2 separate regions of the Homo sapiens genome follow, and region 1 is linked to region 2. The links are contacts of gene promoters, found by promoter capture Hi-C in human tissues and cell types (Jung and others, 2019). All regions are on one chromosome and are shown on one strand. The core of a region is centred on a gene start or on the middle of the fragment in contact, and the rest is flanking DNA. Distances in the headings are between cores, read along the strand shown. Region 1 overlaps ATP8A2 (ATPase phospholipid transporting 8A2). Region 2 holds the start of AMER2 (APC membrane recruitment protein 2).

The links. The method cuts DNA at HindIII sites, captures the fragments that hold promoters and counts their contacts. A contact is called where the count stands out against the background at its distance.
Region 1: a contact is called between a fragment that was not itself captured here and the fragment with the promoter of AMER2 in region 2, in 1 of the 25 tissues and cell types used here (dorsolateral prefrontal cortex).

What each region holds. Positions count from the first base shown.
Region 1 is chr13:25,481,115-25,484,625 of GRCh38, reverse strand. All of the region lies in intron 2 of ATP8A2 (ATPase phospholipid transporting 8A2), which reads right to left. Among named protein-coding and RNA genes, the nearest start is that of ATP8A2, 110 kb to the right of the region's middle. The HindIII fragment of the contact is 4,258 bases long and covers 123-3,511 here.
Region 2 is chr13:25,170,410-25,173,760 of GRCh38, reverse strand. AMER2 (APC membrane recruitment protein 2) reads left to right here and starts at 1,473. Exons shown (of 1, transcript NM_152704.4): 1 at 1,473-3,351. The coding sequence starts at 2,142. It overlaps LINC00463 (long intergenic non-protein coding RNA 463), which reads left to right. Exons shown (of 4, transcript NR_120428.1): 4 at 439-937. RefSeq lists an enhancer at 1-614 and a silencer at 2,894-2,983. The HindIII fragment of the contact is 4,196 bases long and covers 185-3,351 here.

The DNA.
Region 1 (3,511 bases), core at 1,002-3,501, 310 kb before region 2:
GGAGAATCACCTGAATCCGGGAGTGGGATGTTGCAGTAAGCCAAGATCACGCCACTGCACTCCAGCCTGGGCAACAGCGAGACTCTGTCTCAAAAAAAGAAAAAATTTAAAATAAATAAATAAATAAATAATATTCCTTTATATCATTGAATCTACAGTTAAGTATTCAGTTTCCATATTATGCACAGTGCCAAGTTCCTCAGAGATATTCAAAGCAGAGCCCCACAGAGCCAAAAAGTTGATGGTCCCAAACAAGATGGAAGGGAAAAAAGGAGGGAGGGTAGAAAGATACAGATGCAGACTTTATAGTCACAATTCAATACAACTCTAGTCATACATGTGGACCAAGTTTAAGGTTTTAACCATTCTATCATAAAGAATTTTGGTGTTTGTTTGCAGGAGGAGGTGTCAGTGAATTTAATGTGAATTTATATGCAACTGTGTTCTTTCACGACACCAAAAGGAGAAGCCAGTTTCTTGATTTAACACCAATCCACACATGCACTCTCAAACACATTTTAGACTCATCTTATGCTCGCAGTCCAGCCTGCTTGTTCCTAGCAGTTACAGGCTAGAAAACATATATGTACAAAAGACCCTAATGCCCAAAACCTACCTTGTGATTCTTCAGCCTGCATATTTCTTCCCTTGGCAATGTGTAACTCTTGGGCAGAGTAATACGCAAGTCCACTTCCCTTTTCCCCGAGTTACAGCTTATAATTGATTGTTTTGGTTATCAAAGAATTAGAGAGCAAAATGAGTGGCAAAGAAGAACAACATTCGTAATAACCAGATAACTGGTGTCAATGAGCAACTCTGTGTGAGTCTGTGAGCTCTTACACAGTGCAGCCTTAAACAGGTACATTCTCATCTAATTATTTTTTTCTTGTAGACATAGGATCTCACTATGTTGCCCAGGCTGGTGTCAAACTCCTAGCCTCAAACAATCTTCCTGCCTTGGCCTCCCAAAGTGCTGGGATTACAGGCATGAGCCACTGTGCCCAGATGTTCTCATTTAATTCTCATCATGCTGTAAGCTATGACATTATTCTACTTCCAGTTTATTAATTGGAGTATCTTGAAACCAAACAGATCTAGAGGTAGGGAAAGATCTGTCAAAAGTTTGGTGTCTCTCCAAGAGCGCCAGTGCTGCCCCTACCTTGCTGGAGGAAGGAGCTCCTTCATGACGCAACCAACAGAGATCACCCCCTACATGTGTATCTCTGCTCCCCTGGGGTGGTCTCATACTGGGGTGAAAGGGGCTTTCTGCTATTCTGAGGTCAATCACCTTGCCCCATTCCACAGTTCAAAATAGTTCAAAACAAAACTCAGAAACACAAGAAACAGCATCAACACCTTCTCCGTCACTAACACTGGAACCTGGAAATCACACTTGCCTAGTGCTCTGTCCACTTACAGCCCCACTGCTAACCATCCCAAGTGCTTCTCTTCTCCTGCAGCAGTATAGCCCTGCACCTCTTCCTGGGCAATGACAGCAGCCTCATATGCTTATTCTAAATGCAGAGCAGGTGGCTGTGCACATCAAACCCAAGTACTATCTATCACTTTGTCACCTGGCTCATAAAAGCTTTTCTTGGCTATAGCAGCCCGTCTCCAGTAGCCTGGCCTTTCACAGCACTTTGTCCATCATCCCTTCTGTATTAGTCCGTTTTCACGCTGCTGATGAAGACATGCCCCAGACTGGGCAATTTACAAAAGAAAGAGGTTTAATTGGAATTACAGTTCCACATGGCTGGGGAAGCCTCACAATCATGGTGGAAGGCAAGGAGGAGCAAGTCCCGTCTTACATGGACGGCAGCAGGCAAAGAGAGAATGAGGAAGATGCAAAAGTGGAAACCCCTGATAAAACCATCAGCTCTCATAAGATTTATTCACTACCACGAGAATAGTATGGGGGAAACCGCCCCCATGATTCAATCATTTCCCACCAGGTCCCTCCCACAACATATGGGAATTATGGGAGCTACAATTCAAGATGAGATTTGGGTAGGGACCCAGAGCCAAACCACATCACCTTCTTCTTCCACATCTTTTCTGGAAAGACATACACCTGGCCGTTACACTCTTCTGCACCTCTGCACATGGGGTTCCCCATGTCTGGCCTGCCCTCCCCACCAAGCCCCACCCAAGTTTCCAGGCTGACTCGTACTCATCTTTCAGGCCCAGCTCATTGGTCTCTACTAGCAGTTTTGCCCCGTCCTTCTACTTTCCCACCCCTGCAGTGCTGCCACTAACCACGCACCCCCAATTCTTGACAGAGAGGGACTGCAATGCTTACCTCACATATACCAAATGTAGGATTATGAATGGTACTTAAGGAACAAGACTTATGATCAGTCTCAGAGTTCCTGGGGCCTAAAGTAAAAGTCAGACTGGGTCTGACCAGATGGTTTTCCTCTAAGGCGGGCCCTAATCAACTGAATCTAAAGCAGGTGGCTTCCAAGTGGGGTTTGGGAAGATGCTATCAGAGCTTATATTTATATATACCTCCAAAAAATAAGCTTCAGGAACATTTATTAAATGCACTGACACTGGTGTCCCAACGTAATTCTATGTAATGTGGCTGGAGAGGAACCTCTTTAATGGGAAGGGTGGGTGGTGCTATGGACTGAACTGTGTCCTTCCTAAAATTCATATGTTGAAGCCCTAACCCCCAATGTGATGGGATGCTACTGTTGGGCCCTTTTGGAGATAATTAGGATTAGATGAGGTCATGAGGGTGGGACCCTCAAGATGGGATTAGTGCCCTTATTAGAGACAGAGAGCTCTCACTCTGTCTCTCCTTCACTCTCGCTCTTGCTCTTGCTCACTCTCTCTGTTCTGGGAGGACATGGCAAGAAAGCAGCTATCTGCAAGCCAGGAGAGAGCCCGCACCAGAACCAGATCATGCTGGCACCCTGATCTTGGACTTCCAGCCTCTAGAACTATGAGAAGACGAACACCTGCTTACGCCCCCGCAGTCTATGTATTTTGCTATGGCAGCCTGAGCTAATACAGGGATAACAGTGGTACCCTCCCTGTCTGTCTCTCTCCTTACTACTACACATTTCAATTTCCAGGTCCCAGCTAGGTGGAGTCATCCATCACTTTATCCAATTTAAACTAAATTAACCCTCCCAAAAGAACAAATGGTTTAAGAATCATACAGGCATCCACATTCCTGGCTCAGGATGGAGGAGGAATGAAGGATGCATGGGCGTTGAGTCTCAGGAGGGCTCCTAGAACTGCCATGTGACTCTTCTGAGAGACCACTGGCCTGAAGTTGGCCACACAGTCGCTAGTTACAAGAGAAACTGGGAAATGCAGTCTGCATGTCCCATCAGAAAATGTGGGCAAAAACAATATTGGGAAGTAACTATGAAGACCAGTACTCCTGTCCCTGTCCCTGTCCCTGTCCCTGTTCCTCTCCCTGTCCCTCTCCCTCTCCCTCTCCCCACGGTCTCCCTCTCCCTCTCTTTCCACGGTCTCCCTCTGATGCCGAGCCGAAGCT
Region 2 (3,351 bases), core at 224-2,723:
TTCTATCTCAGGGCCAGTAACTCACAGTGAGGGCACCTTCCGCAGGCTGAAGACAGCTTTGTCTCTTTCTCTTTGTTTGAGTGTTGATGTCCCAAAAGAATGATATCCATCCCAAAGTCCTCTATCAGATTTCTCCCAGGAGGCCCAAAGATTCTCATGTAAATTAGAGTCACATTTGACCTGTCCTGATGGGTGAATAAGCAGACCACTTTCTCCCAGTGGAGAAAGGGAGATTTTTTAATAGGCGACTTACTTTTCCTTGATCCCAGTCACAAACTCTTCCAAACTGACAGAGCTACATAGTAACCCACAAATCTAAGCAACTGTATGGGTGTGTGTGTGTTTGTGTGTGTGTGTGTGTATGTGTGTAAAATTGAGAGACTTTCTATTGTTCTTCAAAAGGTTGTAAAGACGTAACAAATGGGTTTCTCTTTACAGTTCCTTACACGTGGTCTCCCCAGAAAGCACTGAGGACTCTGATTCATCATGTCAAGCGGTCAATTAGAATCCGGGAAAGCCTCTCTCTGGCCTCACCTTACTTCCTGTACCAGGAGAGATGCTCATCAATAGTGAGAAAGAGTTGATGGGATTAGAGTCTGGAAGTGACAACCTCTCCTGAACCTGAACTCATTGATTTCTTCGTTTTACAAAACAGTGTTCTTGAAAAAAATAAACAAAAAAAGGAAATAATACAACTAAGAACTCCAAGGTCTAAATTTTAACCAGCTGTATCTCATAACAACAGAAGCTGCAATGGCCAACATACGTCATTTATAAAACGCCAACTTATGTGGATGGGGATTGGGATTTATTGGCCTAATGCAAAGAGCATATAAAAAATGAGTAGGGAAAAGACTACTGTTTGTGTATATATGTAATTATTACATATATTCTTAAATGATATTTAATAAATAATCAAATGATTAAATAATATATACTATATATACATGTTATATTTATATATGTATATGCTTCTCCAAATTTCTTTTTGCTAAAAAGCACTCAGCTGGGATTATGAAATCAGATGTCAAGATTAGAATATTAGCAGTCACTTTTTAAATCAGAACACAGAACAGATCCCTAGACTGAGCTGTTCCCAGAAAAAAGGTTTTCCCTCTCCCCAGACCAGGCAGGTAGGAATGTCTGCAGAGATCCCTGGACACACAGGGACCCCTGCCAAGCTTTTCCTGCTCTGTACATTGGGGAAGGGGACTACAAGTCAGCCCTGGTGGTATGGGGGAGGGGAGTGGTACCGCAGTGACAGGAATAATGCCACTGTCCTGCTGAGTGGGAAAGGAGAGGGCAGAACCCGGACTCGAAGGCCCACCTGTGGAGTGGGTCTGAGATTCCCAGCCTGTGTGTCTCGGTCAGCTTGTCTATTGTTATCAGATGTGGGCTGTGCCGCAGCATCTGTGACTTCATCCCGTGGTGGCTGGAGTCTGGGATAAAAGTCATGGTTGTCCCAAAGGTGCAGGCAAACTCCACCCCGGGGAGCTGTTGTGCTTGCATTGCTGGGCTGCTGATAGACTGATTGAGTGGTGGCGTGTACTTTTGTCACAAGAACCATAACCACAATGACAGCCACACAGCATGGACCTAGCGTGTGCTCAGCTCTGGACAAGACATGGATGTAGGCAGACATGCTTCCTGCCTGCTGGGCTTAGTGCACCAATGCTAAGGACAGACATGAAGGGCTTGGGAAAGGCATGAAGATGCAGGGAGTCTAGGAGAGAGGATAAGAAAAACAAGCATTTTGTGGTGGGTTGAATTGCGTTGTCGTTTTTAGAGGCATTTCGTGATCCATGGTTGCGCTCCCGTGAAGAGCGAGTCTAGAGAAGGAATCCGAAGGTGGGTGAGAGTTGAGGGAATTTGAATTCCATAATTACGACTCGAATTTCTGCAATCAGCTCGCGGCTGTGTTGCCTGCTCCTGCCACAAAAACGCCATGCAGCGCCGAGCCAAGTCGGATGGAAGTGGGTTAGGGTATTATATAAGCCCTTGCGGGAGGGAAGATGGTCTTTTATGTGTGTTTCTTTTGCAGCGGCGGCGGCGAGCGCGGCTCAGGTTGATTTAGAATACGGGTGACAGTGGCCTGGCGCGAGCCCACTGCTGACGAAAGCGGCTTATCCCGCGCGGTTTCCATGGAGACGAGCCGGAGCCGCGGCGGCGGCGGGGCTGTCAGCGAGCGCGGCGGAGCTGGCGCGTCCGTGGGGGTCTGCAGGAGGAAGGCGGAGGCCGGGGCCGGGACCGGGACCCTCGCGGCAGACATGGACTTGCATTGTGACTGTGCCGCCGAAACGCCGGCCGCCGAGCCGCCGTCGGGGAAGATTAATAAAGCTGCCTTCAAATTATTCAAGAAGAGGAAATCGGGTGGCACCATGCCCAGCATTTTTGGGGTCAAAAACAAAGGGGACGGGAAAAGCTCGGGTCCGACGGGGCTGGTGAGGAGCAGGACCCACGACGGACTTGCCGAGGTGCTGGTGCTGGAGAGCGGCAGGAAGGAGGAGCCGCGCGGCGGGGGCGACAGCGGCGGGGGCGGCGGGGGGCGGCCGAACCCGGGGCCCCCCAGAGCCGCAGGGCCCGGCGGGGGCTCCCTCGCCAGCAGCTCGGTGGCCAAGTCGCACAGCTTCTTCTCGCTGCTGAAGAAGAACGGGCGCTCGGAAAACGGCAAGGGAGAGCCTGTGGACGCGAGCAAGGCCGGCGGCAAACAAAAGCGGGGGCTGCGGGGGCTGTTCAGCGGCATGCGCTGGCACAGGAAAGACAAGCGGGCCAAGGCGGAGGCCGCGGAGGGGCGCGCGCCCGGGGGCGGCTTGATCCTACCCGGCTCGCTCACCGCCAGCCTGGAGTGCGTCAAGGAGGAGACGCCCAGAGCCGCGCGCGAGCCGGAGGAGCCCAGCCAGGACGCCCCGCGAGACCCAGCAGGTGAGCCCGCAGGGGGAGAGGAGGTGCCCGCCCCCGCCGACCGCGCCCCAGCGCGGAGCTGCCGAGAGGCAGAGGGCCTCGCGCACCCCGGCGACACCGGCGCCCGGGGAGAGGACGCCGCGGGGCATCGGCGCGCCGAGCCGGGGCCCGGGGAGGTCCGCACGGCAGAGGACGCTTCCAGGACGGGGGCCGTTCCCGTAAAGACGGTCCCCCTTGTCGACTCCGAAGGCGGCAGCGGCCGGGCGCCCGCCGCCCCAGACCCTGCCTCTGTCGATCCACCCTCAGACCCGTCGGCAGATCGTATTTGTTTGATGTTTTCTGACGTGACTTCACTGAAAAGCTTTGACTCTCTTACAGGCTGTGGAGATATTATTGCAGACCAAGAGGAAGAGGCAGGTCCCAGCTGTGACAAGCATGTCCCCGGGCCAG